Regions from separate parts of the Homo sapiens genome. Here all the other regions are linked to region 1. Evidence: promoter capture Hi-C in 16 types of primary human blood cells and fetal thymus (Javierre and others, 2016). All regions are on one chromosome and are shown on one strand. Each heading gives the region's core, a stretch centred on a gene start or on the middle of the fragment in contact. The rest is flanking DNA. Distances are from core to core; before and after follow the strand shown.

The links. Contacts are between HindIII fragments. The CHiCAGO score rates a contact against its expected background, and 5 or more counts as called.
Region 2: a fragment that was not itself captured here is called in contact with the fragment with the promoter of ADD2 in region 1 in 14 of 17 cell types (M1 macrophages, M2 macrophages, M0 macrophages and 11 more); the score reaches 22.7 in M1 macrophages.
Region 3: a contact is called between a fragment that was not itself captured here and the fragment with the promoter of ADD2 in region 1, in 11 of 17 cell types (M0 macrophages, M1 macrophages, M2 macrophages and 8 more). The highest score is 15.8, in M0 macrophages.
Region 4: a contact is called between a fragment that was not itself captured here and the fragment with the promoter of ADD2 in region 1, in 3 of 17 cell types (M1 macrophages, M0 macrophages and M2 macrophages). The highest score is 10.1, in M1 macrophages.
Region 5: a fragment that was not itself captured here is called in contact with the fragment with the promoter of ADD2 in region 1 in 1 of 17 cell types (M2 macrophages); the score reaches 5.0 in M2 macrophages.
Region 6: a fragment that was not itself captured here is called in contact with the fragment with the promoter of ADD2 in region 1 in 3 of 17 cell types (M1 macrophages, M2 macrophages and M0 macrophages); the score reaches 7.7 in M1 macrophages.

The regions. Positions count from the first base shown.
Region 1 is chr2:70,766,593-70,769,673 of GRCh38, forward strand. ADD2 (adducin 2) reads right to left here and starts at 1,608. Exons shown (of 16, transcript NM_001617.4): 1 at 1,294-1,608. RefSeq lists enhancers at 743-1,308, 1,309-1,874, 2,284-2,848. The HindIII fragment of the contact is 9,920 bases long and covers 1-3,081 here.
Region 2 is chr2:70,319,899-70,322,979 of GRCh38, forward strand. No RefSeq gene overlaps it. Among named protein-coding and RNA genes, the nearest start is that of FAM136A, 19 kb to the left of the region's middle. The HindIII fragment of the contact is 2,430 bases long and covers 309-2,738 here.
Region 3 is chr2:70,346,377-70,349,457 of GRCh38, forward strand. It overlaps the pseudogene BRD7P6. Among named protein-coding and RNA genes, the nearest start is that of FAM136A, 46 kb to the left of the region's middle. The HindIII fragment of the contact is 1,057 bases long and covers 1,108-2,164 here.
Region 4 is chr2:70,362,668-70,365,748 of GRCh38, forward strand. No RefSeq gene overlaps it. Among named protein-coding and RNA genes, the nearest start is that of FAM136A, 62 kb to the left of the region's middle. The HindIII fragment of the contact is 256 bases long and covers 1,396-1,651 here.
Region 5 is chr2:70,392,135-70,395,215 of GRCh38, forward strand. No RefSeq gene overlaps it. Among named protein-coding and RNA genes, the nearest start is that of TGFA-IT1, 88 kb to the right of the region's middle. The HindIII fragment of the contact is 5,769 bases long and covers 1-3,081 here.
Region 6 is chr2:70,416,460-70,419,540 of GRCh38, forward strand. No RefSeq gene overlaps it. Among named protein-coding and RNA genes, the nearest start is that of TGFA-IT1, 64 kb to the right of the region's middle. The HindIII fragment of the contact is 1,834 bases long and covers 719-2,552 here.

The DNA of each region.
Region 1 (3,081 bases), core at 358-2,857:
TGCCATTAATGAGAACACCCCTCACTGCACAAGTTAAACATCTCAGGAATCCCAGCTAGATCCACAAACTAGACATGAAAGCAGTTGCTTGCACCCTCTCCAATCCCTTTGCTTCTGCCAGGATGCCAGACCAACCACTCCTTTTGGGTTACTCGGGAAGCACGAAATGTGCATTTAGGAAACTGAGATTTGATTTCTATTATCGATAAAGCTCATCTGAGTCAGTTGAATCTTAGACGACAAACAGCAAGAGGGAAGAGTGGGTGTAAGGAAACAGATGGGTATTAATCATGTGTCAGAGATAAATGACAGTTTTTTAAAGAATTTGATAGGGTGTGGGCTGGAGCTTGCTTTTTTATTTTCTATTTCTATTTCCTATTTTCTATTTTTAGTTTTGGGCAAGAGATGGAGATTAGGGGTGAGAAAAGGAAGGAAGAGAAAAGGCAAGACAATAGGCCAGACCCGAGAGCCTGATCTGCATCCTAAAGCAGTCTGCCCCTCCCTCCCTTCCCCCCAACACCAGGTAGGCTGTGGTGTGATTTAAAAATAAGCAGACACCGACTCCCGCCTCCGGGACCGGGGATGGCCTCCGCCCCGGCTGCAGAAAGGGAGGGGAGGCAGGGAGAGGAGAGGGAAGATGGAAGAAACAGACTGGCAAGACCCCCTCGGGTACAGTGGGATTTTTCCCTCCAAAGTGGTGGAGCCGCATAAAATCAAAACCCACGAGGCCCGCTCACGTGCCGGTTGCCCCGATCTCAATGTAGGCGGCTGCCGACGCCGCACCTGCTCGGCCGGCCACTGCGGCTGAGCGCCGCGCAGCCAGCGATCGCGAGGCCCCGGGGGACGCGCCCAGCCCCGCCAAGCCCGCCTCGCACCGCTACCCCGGAGGGCGGCGGCCGAGCGGGAAGGAAAGAGAGGGGAGGGGAGGGAGGGGAGGGGAGGAGCGGCCCCGCCCGGCTAGGCGAGGCGAGGCTTGCCGCCCCTCCATTCGGACCCAAAAGAAAGCCCCACCTGTCAGGCGTTACGCTCCGGGCGAGGGTCCCACCATCCCCAAGCAGGGGCCAGTGCTTGCAGCCCCGATTTCCTAAGAGCCTCGGATGCTACATCATCACCAGAAACCTTTAGGCGCAAAACACACCGCTGCCGGCCAGGGCTGCAGCACCGACGCGCTCGGCAACAGACGCGCCCCACCTGGGCCAAGCGGCTCCCGCCCGGCCGAGGGATGCCAGGGTCTCCGCGCCAGGAGACCAGCGACCCCAGGCAGCCCACCAGGCCCGCTCCCCAGACCCTTACCTCCTGCGCGGCATCTTAGCTATCTCCGGTCGGCCACTGCGGGTTGGTTTTGTTATTTTATGGGTTTGGGGGGTGGGGTGCGCTTAAAAAATCCACCCAGCTAATCTGCAGGGCAGCGTTTTCTGCCCATGCTGCAGCCCGCGCTCGTCAGAGCTGCTGGGAGATCCCCCAGCAGTGCAGCGGCTCCGCGGCGGCGGGGATGACTGGCCACCGACGCCGCAGTTCCTTGACAAAAGGCTCGGGTTCCCGCTAGTCCCTCACAGCCCTGCCGTCAGAATTAAAGCCATTTCCCGCACGAGGCTGGGAGGAAATGAGAGCTCTCCTGGCCCTGCGCGCTGACAAAAGGCCGCTGCGCGGTGCCCACAGCGCCCCCTCCAGCAGGCCGCGCCGGCCGCCCGAGGGCCGCGGTGCTGCAGTGCCCCCGCCCGCAGCGCCCCCCACCGCCCCGCAGCGGCCTCGCCCCGCAGCACCCCCACTACCGCCCCGCAGCGCCCCCCTCCTCCCCGCAGCGCCCCCGCCCGCGCCGCCGCAGACCCCCCTAGCCAGGCTTCCAGCCCCCTTCCACCCCCGCCCCGCACCACTCACTACCCGGGATGGCCAGAGCTAAGCAGGGGAGTCTGTTACTAGGGAGAAAATCTGAAACAGAGCTCCCTTGGGGGAATGTATTCTCCCTGGAAGGAAGAAAGCAAAAGTCTTAGACTTGGAATATTTCTTTTCGTCTGGAAAGGACAGCTAGCCTTCGGAAGATAATTCTATTAGTGATTTTAATAGCAATTGTTTGACTGAATTCCAAACCAAAATTCTCCCTGTCCTGATTCTCACTCCTTTTCAACCAGGACAACATTTTTGTTGTGGCCCTGCCCTTGGGGGCTGTGGACCCAACGCTCTCCAACTCTCACTACATTCTCCTCTCACTCCTTTCCTTCCTCAGGTCTCCCGCCCCAGAAGGAACAGGTGTGTAGTGAGTGGGGAACTGGATAGGGAACCAGAATACTTCGGTTGCCGTCTCAGAGCTGCTCTTAACTAGCTGTGAGACCTTAATCAACCCACTTAACCTCTCTGGGCCTCGTTGTCTTCCTCTGTAAAATGACAGTGTACCTAAGGCACCTCCCATTTCCAATACTTTCAAGGCCTGGCCCTCAGAGAGTAGGGGTGTTAAGAGATAGCTCTGGACTTTTCACCCCCATAATCTCCACCAGTCCCCAAAACTCCCCTCAATCAACATCCTCTCCAAGGGCTTTTGAAAATGTGCTTGTGAAAATGTACAGCTTCCAGAAAAGCCTCTGGCCACTGATCTGAAACCTGATCATGGCCCCTCTGCCCTTCCAGGTTCTGGGGCACCACAGCCCTCAGACACCCCCACAAAAGTCACTGGCCCCCACCACAGTGCTGCTGTGGAACCAGAATCTCTGGAGGTAGGCTCAGGATTGGTAATTTTAACAAGCAGCCCTAGTGATTCCTTTGCACACTAACACTTTAGAAACACCACTCTGAGAGCTACTACTGATTTAGAAAAGAAAATGCTAACGACAACCCTAGATGCCAGGATAAACTTGTCTTTCTGCTTCAGCCCCCCTTCCAAGAAACATACATGCATACCTGGTCCCTGCACCCTCCTTCCACACTCAGAGCTTCTCACTCATTCTCATTCAGAATCACCGAGTCCACAAGACTTCTCCCCATTCTCCTGTCAAAACCTGCTAGAAGAATTACAACAGGCTCAGCCACACAAGATGAAACCCCTTCCCCTCCCCACCCCAGGACCTAGGTCTGTCTGGTCAAAGAAGC
Region 2 (3,081 bases), core at 274-2,773, 450 kb before region 1:
GGTTGCTTCATGCCCTCTCAGTACCGCACACTCAATGGAGCGAGTGTGAGTGGCGGTTGTTGATGGAAAGTTTGAGGCAACAAGAGAAGTCATACAGCATCACGGCACAGCAAACAGCTTTAACTTGAACATAGGATTGTGTGGTTCAGAAAGGCCTCAGCGATTCCTGCTTCTGTGGAGAAGAACATTCTACTCACTATGAGGTTTGGCCTTTCTTTCCTCCACCCTTATCGTATCTTCCTTTCTGGATCCAGTCTCCCAGGCTTCTTTGTGTGTTTTCCTTTCACCTGTCCAGCCCAAGTCCTAGAAGCTTCACTTTTATATTCAAGTTAAGTAAAAGAACTCATTTCTCCTCAGGCAGAACTCTGTCTCTATATCTTAGAATAATACACATGTACACACAAATACACATATTTCTCTCTCTGCTACACAAATGTTTTAAAAATTAGTCTGCCTGATAAGCACATAGGCATTGGCTGTATTAGTCTCTGTGTTTACTTTCCTGTGTGCTCGAAAATATTTCAAAATAAAAAATTAAAAGGAAAATGAATGGAGAAGACTGGGGATGTCATGATCAATGCTGGACATAGGGGAAATAGCTCCGTTGGTACACAGAGTCTCATTTATTTATTTACAAACGTCTGGCTTACGATGTGCCGGGCATTATTCTAGGTGCTTTGGAAATATGTCTTCAAATCCTCATTCTAATCCTATGGTATTATTATTATTGTCTGCATTTTACAGATGAGGAAACAGAAAAGTTAAGCACCTTACACAAGGTCATGTGTTTGCAAGTAGTAAAGCCAGGATTCAAACCCAGGCTGTCTGGCTCCAGAGGCCATACCTGTAACCACCATGCCTTCCTGCTTCTTGACAAGTGTCCCTTGTAGGCCAGTGGGATTCAAGGGCAGTGGGGACTCAGGGGGCAGTAACAAAGCAGCAAGCTCTTAGTAACTTTTTTTTTTTTTTTTTGAGACAGGGCACACTCTGTCACCCAGGCTGGAGTGCAGTGGCACGATCTAGGCTCACTGCAACCTCCACCTCCCGGGTTCAAGTGATTCTCATGCCTCAGCCTCCCTAGTAGCAGGGATTACAGGCAACTGCCACCATGTCCGGCTAATTTTTTGTTTTGTTTTGTTTTTTGAGATGGGGTCTTGCTCTGTCGCCCAGGCTGGAGTGCCGTGGCGCAGTCTCGGCTCAGTGCAAGCTCTGCCTCCCGGGTTCACGCCATTCTCCTGCCTCAGCCTCCTGAGTAGCTGGGACTACAGGCGCCCGCCACCACGCCCACCTACTTTTTTGTATTTTTAGTAGAGATGGGGTTTCACTGTGGTCAGGATGGTCTCGATCTCCTGACCTCGTGATCTGCCCGCCTCGGCCTCCCGAAGTGCTGGGATTACAGGTGTGAGCCACCGCGCCTGGCCAATTTTTGTATTTTTAGTAGAGACGAGGTTTCACCATGTTGGCTAGGCTGGTCTCGAACTCCCGTCCTCAAGTGATCTGCCTGCCTCAGCCTGCAAAGTGCTGGGATTACAGGCGTGAGCCACCATGCCCCATCTCTTAGTAGTTTTTGAGGAGCAGTTTAGAGTGTCAGCAAAGTTCTTCACAGATCCAAGAGTTGTTAGCTGATGTAATCCGGCTGGATGAGGGAGGTAGAGAGGAAGGCAAGAGGTGGCGGGTGGCTGAGGGCTGCTTGCGTAACATCTTGACTGTGGCAGCAGACACAGTGGAGGTTGTGAGATTTGTTATGGATGTTAAGAAGGGCTAAAGAGCCACTAGGTGATCATAGCTCACTGTAGGCTGGGTTCAGTGGCTCATCTCTGTAATCCTCAGCACTTTGGGAGGTTGAGGCAGAAGGATCACTTGAGCCCAGGAGCTTGAGGCTGCAGTGAGCTATGATTGTGCCACTGCACTGAAGCCTGGGCAACAGAGTGAGACCCTGTCTCTTAAAAAAAAAAAAAAAAGCTCACGATAACCTTAAACTCCTGGGCTCAAGTGATCCTCCAGGCACAGCCTCCCTAGTAGCTAGGACTACAGACACATACCACTATGCTCAGCTAATTTTTAATTTTTTTGTAGAGACAGGGTCTCACCTCGTTGTCCAGGCTTGCATTGCATTGTTCTTTTTTCTTTTTTTCTTTTTTTTTTTTTTTGAGACAGAGTCTTGTTCTGTCACCCAGGCTGGAGAGCAGTGGCACCATCTCTGCTCACTGCAACCTCCACCTTCCAGGTTTAAGCGATTCTCTGGCCTCAACCTCCCAAGTAGCTGGGATTATAGGTGTGTGCCACCATGCCTGGCTAATTTTTGTTATTTTCAGTAGAGATGGGGTTTTGCCACGTTGGCCAGGCTGGTCTTGAACTCCTGACTTTGGGTGATCCACCCATCTTGGCCTCCCAAAGTGGTGGGATCACAGGTGTGAGGAGGCTTGCCTTGTTCTTTAAAGTCAAGAAAACATAGTTTCTAGGAAATGGAAAAAAAAGATAATGAGATAATAGAAATGAAGATGGATCTGCCTAATGGAGTACATAAAGAGGAAGGAAGATGAAATAAAAAGGAAAGAACACTTTGAAATGAAATGTGGTAGTGGTTTCCATAGTACTTAATGTTTTAGAAGTGGGGATCTTATGGGAAAATCTAGGTTTCAGTTAAGACAAGGAGGTGAAGGAAACCTTAGTAGAAAGGTTGGCAGTATGGGGGCATTTATTACACTCAAAACTAATTCTGGTGGGCATGGTGGAAAAGCTTGAGACAGAAACAGAAGGAAGTTGAGTCAGGGCATGGAAACCCTGAGTGCTATGATGATGAAAATACCAGAGGTGGTAGACGGCCAGAGAGCCTTGTGTTACAGAGTCATGTGTGTGGGGCAGGGTGAGTTTAATTGGCTACTCAGGTAGGACACAAACCAGCTAAGGCTCTGGAAGTACACATGCACTTTTCACCAGGAACATATCCCGCTGGTGTGTGTGCAGCAAAGTACAGCCATTGTTAAGAGACACTCAAAACAAAAGCAACCCAGAAAGGCTACAAATAAGAGGGCAGCCTTGCAAAGGCAGACCCAAAGAAATCAGGGATTGCAGCATCAG
Region 3 (3,081 bases), core at 386-2,885, 420 kb before region 1:
AACTCCTGAGCTCAAGCGATTCTCTCACCTCTGCTTTCCAAAGTGCTGAGATTACAGGTGTGGGCCACCGTGCCTAGCCTAGGTTTTGTAAGCAATTATGCAACCTTCACCCTTTCCCCCTAGAGGCTCTAAAACTCTGCCATTAGAGAGTCCTTCTCAAGCAAACCAGGGATATGCTCTGGTATGAAAAGGTGGTGGGTTTTCCAGTTTGTTCTGAGGGCCCAAGCCCCTTTAGAACAAGAATCAAAACAATGCCTGGGACCTGCCCTGTTATCCAACCCTATGCTCTCTCTTCCTGGTGGAGGCTCCAGAATTTCTGGATCACTGGATTTAGGGGATGCAATCCAGCTGGAAGAGAGTGGAACAGAGTTAGGGAACTTGTCTTGAAGCTGCAATTGCAGGGTTTTGCACCGAGTGTTTTAGGAGGTGGCTTGTGTGGGGTGGTGGTGAGGGGGTGCTGATGAGATTTTAGAGGAAGGTTTTGAGCCTGGGCACTGCTACTGGCTTCCCCTTTTGTTAGAACCTGGCCATGCCTCTGAACATGGCTTCTCTTCTCTCTGTGGACTGACAGCACCTGAGGGAGGGCAGGGAACAACCAGGGAGGCCCCAGCATGGGAACAGAGAAGAGAGACAGGCAGCCCTGCCTGTACCAGGGACCTCTTGAAGACTGTGTGGATGGTCCCTGACTTAGGATTGTTTGATTTAGGATTTTTTGACTTTAGATGGTACAAAAGTGATACACATTCAGCAGAAACTGTACTTTGAGTTTTTGGAATTGGGCTACATTTGTTGATATTGTTTTTTCTATTGCAATTAAGTCTAATAGAAGAGATGTTATATTTTGGTTGCAGTGAGGTTTGAATATGATATCATGTGGTGTATTGTAATGGGAAGAAACCTAATATGTTGAAGAATTTATATGTGTGTGAAGGGGATTCAAGTTTGAGATTATTAGTCATAAGATTAAGTTCCACTGCTACTGTAAATCCTAGAATGCTTATGCCAAGGGCTTTAAGTTTTAGTTTAGTTTAACACAACCATTCTGTTTTCCAACTTCAGTATAGTATTCAATAAATTACATGAGATATTTAACACTATTATAAAATAAGCTTTGTGTTCAATGATTTGCTCAACTGTAGAGTAATGTAAGTGTTCTGAGGACTTTTAAGGTAGACTAGGCTAAGCTCTGATGTTCAGTAGGTTAGGCATATTCAATGCATTTTGGATTTTTAGTACTTTCAACTTATGGTGGGTTTATCAGGATGTAACCCCATTGTAAATCAAGGTGCATCTATATGTGAAAGAAAGTTAGTAGAGAGCCCTGTTCATCTACCAAGTCCTGCAGTGAGGACCAGGGGTGGGGTTGGGAGTGGTGCTCTGCAGGAAGCAGGAAATCACCCTCTCCAGTTACCTGGGGGCAGGGGAGCTGGGGATGAAGTCTGTATTGCTGCTATAATAAATTACTGTAAATTTAGTAGTTTAAAACAACACAAATTTATTATCTTACAGTTCTGAAGATCAGAAGTCTAAAATCAATCTCACTGGGCTAATGTCAAGGGACAAAAGGGCTGATTCCTTCTGGAGGCTCTAGGGGATCTTTTTCCTTGTTTTTACAGCTGCTGGAGGCCACCTGCATTCCTTGGCCCATGCTCCCTTCCTCCATTGTCAAAGCCAGCAAAGGTAGCATCTGCCAATATGACTTCTGCTTCCATAATCACATGTTCTTCTATGACTCTGACCTTCCTGCCTTTGTCTTATAAAGAACCTTATGATTATTTTGGGCCCACCCAGATAATCCAGGATAACCTCCCCATCTCAAAATCCTTAATTTATTCACGTCCACAAAGTCCCTTTTACCAGGTACGATAACATATTCACAGGTTCTGAGGATTAGGACATGGACATTTTTGGAAAGTCTTATTCTGCCTACCACAAAGGCCAAATTCAGAAGGTGAAGAGTGTGTGGTTGGGACACAGGTGTAGGAATTGTTATGTCTATTTGACTAGAACTCCCTCTTCATAAGATTGCCTTGAGTCAAAGAGAGCTGCCAGCCAGAGGACAAAGGAGTTTAAAGGGTTTTTCCTCTATCAGAAGGAGTCCTTTCTGGGCGGTGGTGCTTTTGCCTCTCTGGTGACCTGGGACGAATGTCAAATGCCACAGCAAAGCTTGGAAATATTGCCCAGGTGTTACGACTCTCTACATATATGTTCCAAAAAAGTCTTCAGATGACAAATTAAGATTGACTTAGAAAACTCAGTAGTGGTCCTAAACATCTTAAATAACAGAATTATAATTAAAAATACATCATTTCCTATATTCTACTTTCACCAAATGATATGTACAATCATTTCCTATATCTTTATGTTCACCAAAAACATATTCAGAGTAACACCATTTGCATTAGCCCCAAACAGCTTCCCAAATGCCCACCAATGGTAGAATGGATAAACTGACAGAAGACTGGTGTAATCAATGGAATTCAAAACAGCAGTGAGAACGAACCAACAACTGCATCCAATATGAAAAAATATCAAACAGAATGTTAAGAGATCAGCTTTAAAAAAAAAAGCACATTTTCTATGATTTATATCAAATCCCAAACCAGGGAAAACCAATCATGGTGTTAGAAGTCAGGGCAGTTACTCTTGATGAGGGGGAAAGGTGGTGAACAGCTACTGGAGGAAGGTACAAGTGGGCTTCTGGGATGTTAGTAAGGTTCTGTGTTTCTGTTTGCTAGTTTTATGGATGTGTTAGGTTTGCAAAAATTCATCAAGTTGGACATTTGTGATTTGTGCACTTTGCCATATGAATGCTATACCTCAATATAAAGTTAGAAATATATGTATACTATTTCCAACAGCAACAAAAACTATGAATCCAGTAATAAGTCTAACAAGCAGATATGCAAAACCTTTATGGAAGACATCAAAGAAGACCTAAAAACATGGAGAACGTGGTAGTTAATTTAAAGTGTCAACCTGGCTGGGCTATGGTACCCAGTTATTGGCTCAAACAGTGATCTAGATGTTGCTAGGAAGGTATTTTTTCATATTAGGTTAACACTGAAATCAGGAGATATT
Region 4 (3,081 bases), core at 274-2,773, 400 kb before region 1:
TGTGATCTTTCTATGTTGCCCAGGCTGGTCTCAAACTCCTAGGCTCAAGCAATCCTCCCACCTCGTCCTCCCAAAGCGCTGGGACTACAGGCATGAGCTGCTGCAGCTGGCCCTGATAGTCTTTATTTCACCACTGTATCACCAGGGTTTAGCACAGTGCCTGAGTGCGTTGGATACCGAGCAAATATTTGCCAAATGAATGAGTAATGAGTGAATCCTTAAGCTGGGGGTGGCTGTGAGAAGAGTGACAAGGTTAGTGGCCACGATGCTGTGGGAGACCAGGCTCTTCACTATAGTTTAAGTGGAATGAACCCCTCATTGTTTCCAAACTAACGATCCTCATCTGAGAAGAGAAGTTCATTTGGAACCCCACTGTCACCTTCTCAGGGCCACCACGGAGTGTATGCTCATCAGGGACTTGGGAGACCACTTTGGCTCACCCCTGCACCCACCGCTTTGCTGACATCCAAGGGGCTGGGGGCCCAAGTCTGGGGAGCTCAATCCTTCATCCATGTCTGATCTCAGCAGCATGTCCCATTCCAGTTCACTATTAAAAATTGTATTTCTACAGCTCTTTTCATAGAAAAAAAAATTGTGTTCCTTGTCTTAGCATGGTGCATTTCTGCAGTTGGACTGAGGTGTTACTAAAGCTAGAGTTTTCTACTCAGAGAGAGGAGAGGACTCCAGACTGCCGGTGCAAGAGATACGTATGTACATGCATGTGTCTGGAAAGAAAATTCTGAGATCAATAAATCTACCAAGAATGAGTGTCTCACATCCATGGGAACCTGTCTGTGCTGCATCCTGTGATCACTGAACACCCCTAAGCCTCCACCATTCTAGATTTCACCTCTTTCCTCCTTTGCCCTGTTGTCCCCTGCTGGCGGTGGCTGCCCTCATCCAGGTGGTACATTACATCCCTTGCAGCTCCCATGTCCTTCTGGCTCCAGCACCATCAGTTTACCATGGAGATTCTCGACCTCCAGGGGCTACCATGCCACTTCTCATACACCCCTGGAAACCTCCTTTCACAGCAAGTAAGCCTTCATCCCTGTTACTCCATTACCTTCTCCACCACAGCCATAGATGTCTCATAGTGAGCACTATTTGGAAGAACTCTGTGCTGCCTAGGAGTAACTTTGAAATTCAATAAATACTTACTAAAGCCTTACTATGTGTCAGGCACATTTCTTGGTGCTGAGGCCACAATAGTGGATAAGGCAGAACTGAATCCTGCCCCAGGGGAACTCACCTTCTACTAGAGGACACAGACATCAACAGAATCAGTGCACAATGATTGAAGCTCAGTTGTGGGAAAAGCCATGAAGTAGTTAGCACAGGGTGCCCCAAGAGCAGCATGGGATGCGCCTGAGTTAGGGTGGGGTGGTTTGGGAAAGCTTCACTGAGAGAATGAGAGGGTGAGTGTGAGTTCGGCAGATGGAGTGAGGAAGGCGCGGTGGGCAGTGCTCCAGGCCAGCACTCTAATGGGCATTCCAATCACCTGGGCACCTTGTTGTGGCGTGGGGCCCAAGATTCTGTTTCTAACAAGCTCCCAAGTGGCTCCAGAGCTGCTGGTCTGGGAACTCACTTTGAGTAGCAAGTTTCTATACCAGTGACTCTCAGCCTTAATTGTGTATGGACATCACCTGGAAGCTTTAAACAATACTGACGCCTGGGTGCTACCTCCAGAGATTCTGATTTGCTTGGTTTTAGATGTGTCCTTGGGATTTGAAGGAAAAAAAAAAAAACCACTCCCCAGGGTATTCTAATGTGCAGCTTGGATTGAGGACCCTTCATCTAGGCAAGGCTAACAGTACGAGTAAAACCCGAGGACATTTAGATGACAACTTTTCTGGGTGGAGGGCCAAGCGCTCAGTCTTCTCTGATCTTGCCTGGGCTCACGAATGCTGTGAACAGTCACTGGTACCTCAAAGAGCTGCATGGGCCAAGCTTGTCTCATTCACACATCTGACAGGGGGTTCTGGCTGTTGGCCGGGTCACCTTGCTCTCCAGGAGTATGCTAGACTCACTGGACGGCATGAGAGCGAGGGTGGAAGCTGCAAGGCCTTCTGAGGCCTAGGCTCCGGAACTTGCATAGAACAGTTCCTCCACATTCTAAGTCACAAGGACTGCCCAGATTCAAGGGGGTGGAGACATATACTCCACCTCTTTATTTAACTGTTTCGTTTGTGGAGGTGAGGTCTCACTATGTTGCTCAGGCTGGCCTCAAACTCCTGGGCTCAGACAATCCTCCTGCCTTGGCCTCCCAAAGTGCTGGGATTACAGATGTGAGCTGCTGCCCTGGCTGCTGGACTCCACCTCTTGATGAGAGGAGACATCACATTACCAAGGACACTGGGGCCTTTGGTATAGAGATTTGCTACAGCGATCCAAGCAGCTACATAAGGACCCTGTGGTCAGAAAATGGAGTCACAGCTGGGGGGTGGAATCCCTGTTTAATCTTTGAGGACTGGAGCCTGACAGTGGTCTCAGACTGTCTGATCGGAATGCAAATTTCCTACCTCAATTTTGCCCCTGGTGAGATGGTGAGAAGAGAACAAGGATGAGAGGATGCTTTCCCCACGTCCATGGTGCTTCCTGCCTGCCTGACCCCACGGCAGGATTAACCTCATGGCATTCCAACCTCCAGGGGCCCTTTCCACACACAGCTGCTTTCTGGCCAAACTTACAGGCCAGGAGTGGTTCAGACTTCACAGATAGGAAGGTCCTCTCAGCAGTAGGCAGCTCCCATTACGGTGGGAATGGAAGGAGGGAGAGCCTCCTGACCCTCAGTGCTCTTCTTCCCACCAGAAAGTCCACCATGGTTAGGTATGCTCTGAGCTTTATCATCCTTTAGCAAGGAATTCAGGACCTTTGGGTGAAGATCTGGAGGAGTAAGAGGAAGGGGTAGTAGTATGGCAGCACCAGAGCCAAAGACAAGCCTGGAATTGCAGAGTAGCCCTGGCCTGCCTCTCACCACCTGGAGGGCACACTGGGCAGAGCCTTCTCTAATCAGGGCTGTAGCTTTGGCGACTGGGCAGTGCCTGGGGACTGAAGGGCGAGGGAAGAATCTCATTCAGC
Region 5 (3,081 bases), core at 376-2,875, 370 kb before region 1:
GCATGCTACATAAGGAGTCAGGGCTAGTGCATGCTAGGCAAGGAGTCAGGGCTAGTGCATGCTAGATAAGGAGTCAGTGCTAAAGCATGCTAGGCAAGGAGCCAGGGCTAGTGCATGCTAGGCAAGGAGTCAGTGCTAGTGCATGCTAGGCAAGGAGTCAGGGTTAGTGTATGCTAAACAAGGTGGGTTGGGGCCCACTTTTAGCCTCATCAAGGGTATACTCAGAAACCCAAGGCAGAGGATGAGTTTTTGGCCTGAAGGCCTTTGTTCAGTGTCAGAGGGAAGATTACAGGTTGCAGTTTGGGGCTGTACTAATTTAAGGCAGCAAGAACAATTCAGGAACCCACCTGTGCAGTGGGGGAAGGGGAGAAGAGGGTGGGGATTGGACCCTAATATACTGCCAGGTCTAGTTAAGGTCAGTTCAGGGCTTGCCATGTTCTGTCAACATGATTCCATATACTCTTCACATGACCTATGACATAGATATGGTCTTTATTTTACAGATGAGAAAAATGAGCCCCAGGGAGATAACTTGCCCAACATCTCACAACTGGTAAGAGGTACAGCCAAAACGAAAACCCGGGTCTGTCCTATGCCAAAGACTACCCTTTTAACTCCTGGAGACTGGGCTGTGATCTCTCCCTTCTTTGAGAAATATGTTCTTAAATTAACAATCTTGTTCACAGCAAAGTAATGGCACATGAAGGAAATCTAAGGCCTGTGTATCTAGCACTTAGACCAGGGCCCTTTCCTCTCACTGTTCCCTCAAGTACCATGGCCTTTGCAGCCCTCCTTGTCCCCAACCCAATTTGGCATTAAAACTTTTTTGGAAACACATATTCGTTCTATCTCTGGATGACTGAAAATAGAAATTAAAGCTGAAGAGACTTCTGTTCGAAACAAGGAAAACCTTGTCAGCAAGGAACAGAAAATTTTTTGAGTGAGAATGACATACAGGTGTGGAGTCGCTTTGCTTTGAGGTTTTTCTGAAGAAAATAGACTATAGCTGCTGTTTTTTGTTAGTTCAGGGTGACTAAAATCCATCAGTGACATCAACCAAGACCCAAACTAAGTTTTTATTCTTATAAATTCCACGTTGCTATGATCTGAACGTTTGTGTCCTCCCCAAAATCCATATGTTGAAACCTAATCTCCATTGCAAGTATTAAGAGGTGGGGCTTTTAGGAGATGATGAGGTCATGAGGGCTCTGCTGTCATGAGTGTGATTAGGGTCTCTTGTTAAAGAGGCTTGAGGGAGCTTGATTTTCCCTTCCACCTAAATCTGCTGACTCCTTGATCTTGGACTTCCCAGCCTCCAGAACCATGAGCAATAAATTTCTGTTGTTTATAAATTGCCCAGTCTAAGGTATTTTGTTATAGCAGCCTGAATAAACTAAGATATTTTGTTAACTTATACTACTGAGAAGACTTGATGCATATTTTAGAGATATTATTTATCCATTTAGTCACTTGTGTGCAAAATCCATTTTATGTGTGCATGTAACACTGTCCTTTGCATTTTTGCTTTAATGGAAAGTTTATTACTCTGTTTCTGTTTCAAAATCTGCACACCCAGCCTGCAGGTCACTGTCTTGGGTGTGGACAAACTCATCTTCTAAATCTCCATTTAATCTCTAGAACCTTCTCATGTGCCCTGCCCAAGGCACCTGTGGATGTAGTAGGTTACCTGCAAAGAGAAAGACATGTGTCTCTCAAAAGAATGTGGAGAACAAAATAAAGCAGTAATGGATTATAACACAAAGTATAAATATTTATGAGTTCATATATTTTTGTAAATAAATGAATAAATAACAAAGTGGGCAAAGAGGCAAATCTCCAATGCAGAAGAATTTCAAATTATTTATATAGACACTGCACCCTCAAGGAGGTAGAACATAACTCTCCACATTAGCTTCTTGTGGCTGCTATAACAAATTGCCACACTCGGCGATTTTTGACAAAGATCTATTTTCACAGTTATAGGGGCCAGAAATCTGCCATCAGTATCACTGAACTAAAATCAAGGTGTCAGTGGGTCTGTGCTCTCTCTGGAGTCTCTGGGGTCTCCTTGCCTCCTCCAGTTTCTCCTGATTGCTGGCCGCATTTCTCCACTCTCTGCCTCTGGGATCACATTGCTTTTCCCTTCTTCTGGGTCAATCTCCCTCTGGCTTCCTCCTCTTCTTCAACTTTTAAGTTCTGGGGTACATGTGCAGGATGTACAGGTTTGTTACATAGGTAAATGTGTGCCATGGTGGTTTGCTGCACAGATCAACCTGTTACCTAGGTATTGAGCCCAGCATCCATTAGCTATTCTTCCTGATGCTCTCCCTTCCCCCTGCCCTCCCTGACAGGCCCCAGTGTGTGTTGTTCCCTGTCCCCACCATGTGTCCATGTGTTCTCATCATTCAGCTCCTACTTTTAATAGGAAACATGTGGTGTTTGGTTTTCAGTTCTTGCGTTAGTTTGCTGAGGATAATGGCTTCCAGCTCCATTCATGTCCCTGCAAAGGACATGATCTCATTACTTTTTTATGGCTGTATAGTATTCCATGGTGTATATGTACCACATTTTCTTTATCCAGTCTATCATTGATGGACATTTGGGTTGGTTCCACGTCTTCGTTATTGCGAATAGTGCTATAATGAACATACGTGGACTTGTATCTTTATAACAGAATGATTTATATTCCTTTGGGCATATACCCAGTAATGGGATTGCTGGGTCAAACTGTGTTTGTTTCTAGATCTTTGAGGAATTGCCACACTATCTTCCACAATGGTGGAACTAATTTACATTCCCACTAACAATGTAAAAGCATTCTTTTTCTCTGCAACCTCATTGGCATCTGTTGTTTCTTATTAATAATCACCATTATGACTGGTATAAAATGGTAGCTCATTGTGGTTTTGATTTGCATTTCTCTAGTGATCAGTGATGATTAGCTTTTTTTCATATGTTTGTTGGCCACATGAATGTCTTCTTTTGAGAAGTGTCTGTTCATATCCTTTGTCCACTTTTTAATGGGGTTGTTTTCTTATAAATTTGTTCAAGTTCCTTGCAGACTCTGGATATTAGATCTTT
Region 6 (3,081 bases), core at 386-2,885, 350 kb before region 1:
GAGCAATCACCAAAAAGTAGAACAAAGAGGTGTAATTATTAAGCCAGTAGTAGAGATAAATAATTATTAAAACACTCTGTTAATCCAAAAAAGGCGGGAAGAGAGAAAAAGAACAAAGAACAGATAGGACAAATTGTCAGGTGGTCGATTTAGTCCAACCATATTTATATCAAATGCAAATATCTAAATATTCCAAATAAAAAACAGAGGTGGTAAGATTGGAAAAAAAAGCAAGACTGATCGTATGCTGACTACAAAAAACCTACTTTAAATATAAAAACATACATGAAAAATGCCATGCAAGTAATAATAAAAGAGTGGCTATATGAGACAAAGTAGACTTCAGAACAAGGGGGACGTTACATATGTTAAAGGGGTCAATACATTAAGAAGACATAACAATCCTAAATATCTATGTACCCAATAAAAAGCTTCAAAAAACATAAAACAAATACTGATGGAATGAGAAGGACTAGACAAATACATAATTATAGCAGGAAACAAGAACCCAAAAGACATAATTTTTAATTACTAAAGGAAGATCATACAAAGGATATTTTTCAACAGTGAGTGGCTTTGTAATACACTTAATTTTAGAAAAAATTGTGTAATCATTAACCGAGTGTTTGCTTTGAACAACATACAAAAGAGGATTCAGAAGTAAGGTTATAGAGGTAACACCTTAGATGAAATTAATTCACTATATTATTAAAAAGCAAGCTTTCCAATAATGCTGTTGAAGCCATATGTACCCTAGGTGCTAGATCAGCAATTTGGTAATAATGAAAAAAAAGACTATAAAAATACAGTGGAATCTTAATATTCTGAATGAGATGGGTAGTGACTACAAGCATCTTTTATACCACATAGAGATTAGCTGATTATCTTGTGGCAGAATGCTTAAAAACAAGAAATTTCCTTTTATAAAGAGAAGGGCTATGAATATGCTGCCCATTTATCAGTGATGACAAGTGACCCTTAGAAGTGTGCTTTCTAAAAGCAATTTTTAAAACAATAAACACAGGTATTTTGTTCTTCTGAGGTAATGGTGATCCTCTAGCAATGAGGGAGAAAATAGTTGCTTTGCGATGACGGGAACTTGTGCTATGGAGACAGAATTGAGGATGAGTATTTGGTAATGTAGTCATATAATTTTATAGTAAAAAGTGCAGTGGGCCTCCTAAAAAAAATGCCCAGATCTGCCTTCTTAAAAAACTTAGGAACATGCTTTTCTCAGTATTTACAAATCTTTAAATGAAGAGTTTCAGTGAGTTTTGAACCTTGTTAATGTAAAAATGTGACACCTTCCAATTAGTTTGTGGAACAATTGGCGTCAGGAATATATAAATTCACCAGCTGCATTTCAACAAAAGCCTTTGTATAATTGGTGTCAGTTTGAACACTGAATATCACAATTCGCTTCTCCCATTTGGATGTACTGCAGGTGTCTTTGGGAAGTATCTTTTCCAGCAATAATAGCCAATCAATACAAGTATTGAAAAAAGCCCACTTTAGAACAAATCTTGGAAATGCTGCATCAAAATGAATTAAACAAGATTTCAAACTGTAATAAAGCATACCCAAGCACATTTCTCATTAAAAATATTAATAGAATTTTTTAGTGAAAGCCCAAATAATGTAGCTTAGTAAAAAAAATTAAAGCCTGGTTCAACTTATTAGAAGTGTGGTAACTCATCACTTCTTTCACACACAGCATTCTCCCTCCCCTACCCCAGCCTGGTTTTCAGCATAGGACGATTTTCCTAAAGGAACTCTTGAGTGGTGAAGACAACTGTTCAAATGGAGTTCCCCTAACCCAAGCAGGGCACACCCACACCCAAGGCCCTTCGACCCTCCTCTCTCCCCATCCCTTAAATTTAGAGGAATGGTTGGAAATGAATTAAGGATGCTGGTTATATTAGTCTGTTCTTGCATTGCTATAAAGCACTGCCTGAGACTAGATAATTTATAAGAAAAGAGGTTTAATTGACTCACAGTTCTACAGGCTGTACAGGAAGCATGGCTGGGGAGGCCTCAGGAAACTTAAAATCACGGAGGAAAGCGAAGGGGAAGCAGACACATCTTTACCCAGCAAAGCAGGCTACAGAGCGTGAAGGGGGACGTGCTACACGCTTTTAAACCACCAGATCCCGCGAGAACTCACTCACTGTCACCAGAACAGCAAGGAGGAAGTCCGTCCCCATGATCCAATCACCTCCCACGAGGCCTCTCCTCCAGCAATGAGGATTACAATTTGACATGAGATTTGGGTGGGAACACAGAGCCGAACCATATCACTGGTCATTGTGGTGTCTCTAAAAGGCCAGGAACCAGTTTGAGGACCACCCACTGGGAGGAGAGCTCTGAACCAACACCTGTGAATAACGATTGTAGCCTTTGCCCATGCTGTACACATGCGTAGTGCTTTCCCACACCTGGGTCCTTTCAACCTCGTTAACCTAGGCAATAATTATTATTTTCGTCTTACAGCTGAGGAAACGGAGGCTCAAATGCTCGTCAGTTTCCCAGGGACGTGGGCTGGTAAGTAGCAAAGCTTGGAGTTGGACCCAGTTGATCCAACCTCTACTTATTTTTGAGGGGTAAGAGATATGTGTAAAGGGGGTGATAGATTTCATATGTGTATGGGCCCCTTAGGGGGCCTGTGTGAAGAGCCCAGGGAAGGCTAAGGTGGGTGGCTAGACCAGTTCTGCTAAGGAGAGCCAGAGTTTCAAAGAAAGGGAAATGTTTTAGATGCCTCTAAAACATGTTCCTAAATTCAGCCGCCCATCAGCATCATCCAGAGAGGTTAAACGAAAAACAAACAAACAAACAAAGGCTAATTCCTGGGCTCCTCCTCAAACCCTATCAAATTAGTATTGTGAAGAAAACAGAATCCACCTGAATTTTTTCCAACAGCTTTCCTGAAGCCAGATGGAGACTGCTAGAGGGCTGGTGGGATAGGTCTGGGAGCTAGGGACAGCTCTAGGTGGTATCTTTGCACCTCTATCCCCTAGGGTAGGGGGATGTGAGGCCTTCAGGATGGAAGGCAAGGATTCTGCCTGCTACTCTGGGCACCTAGCT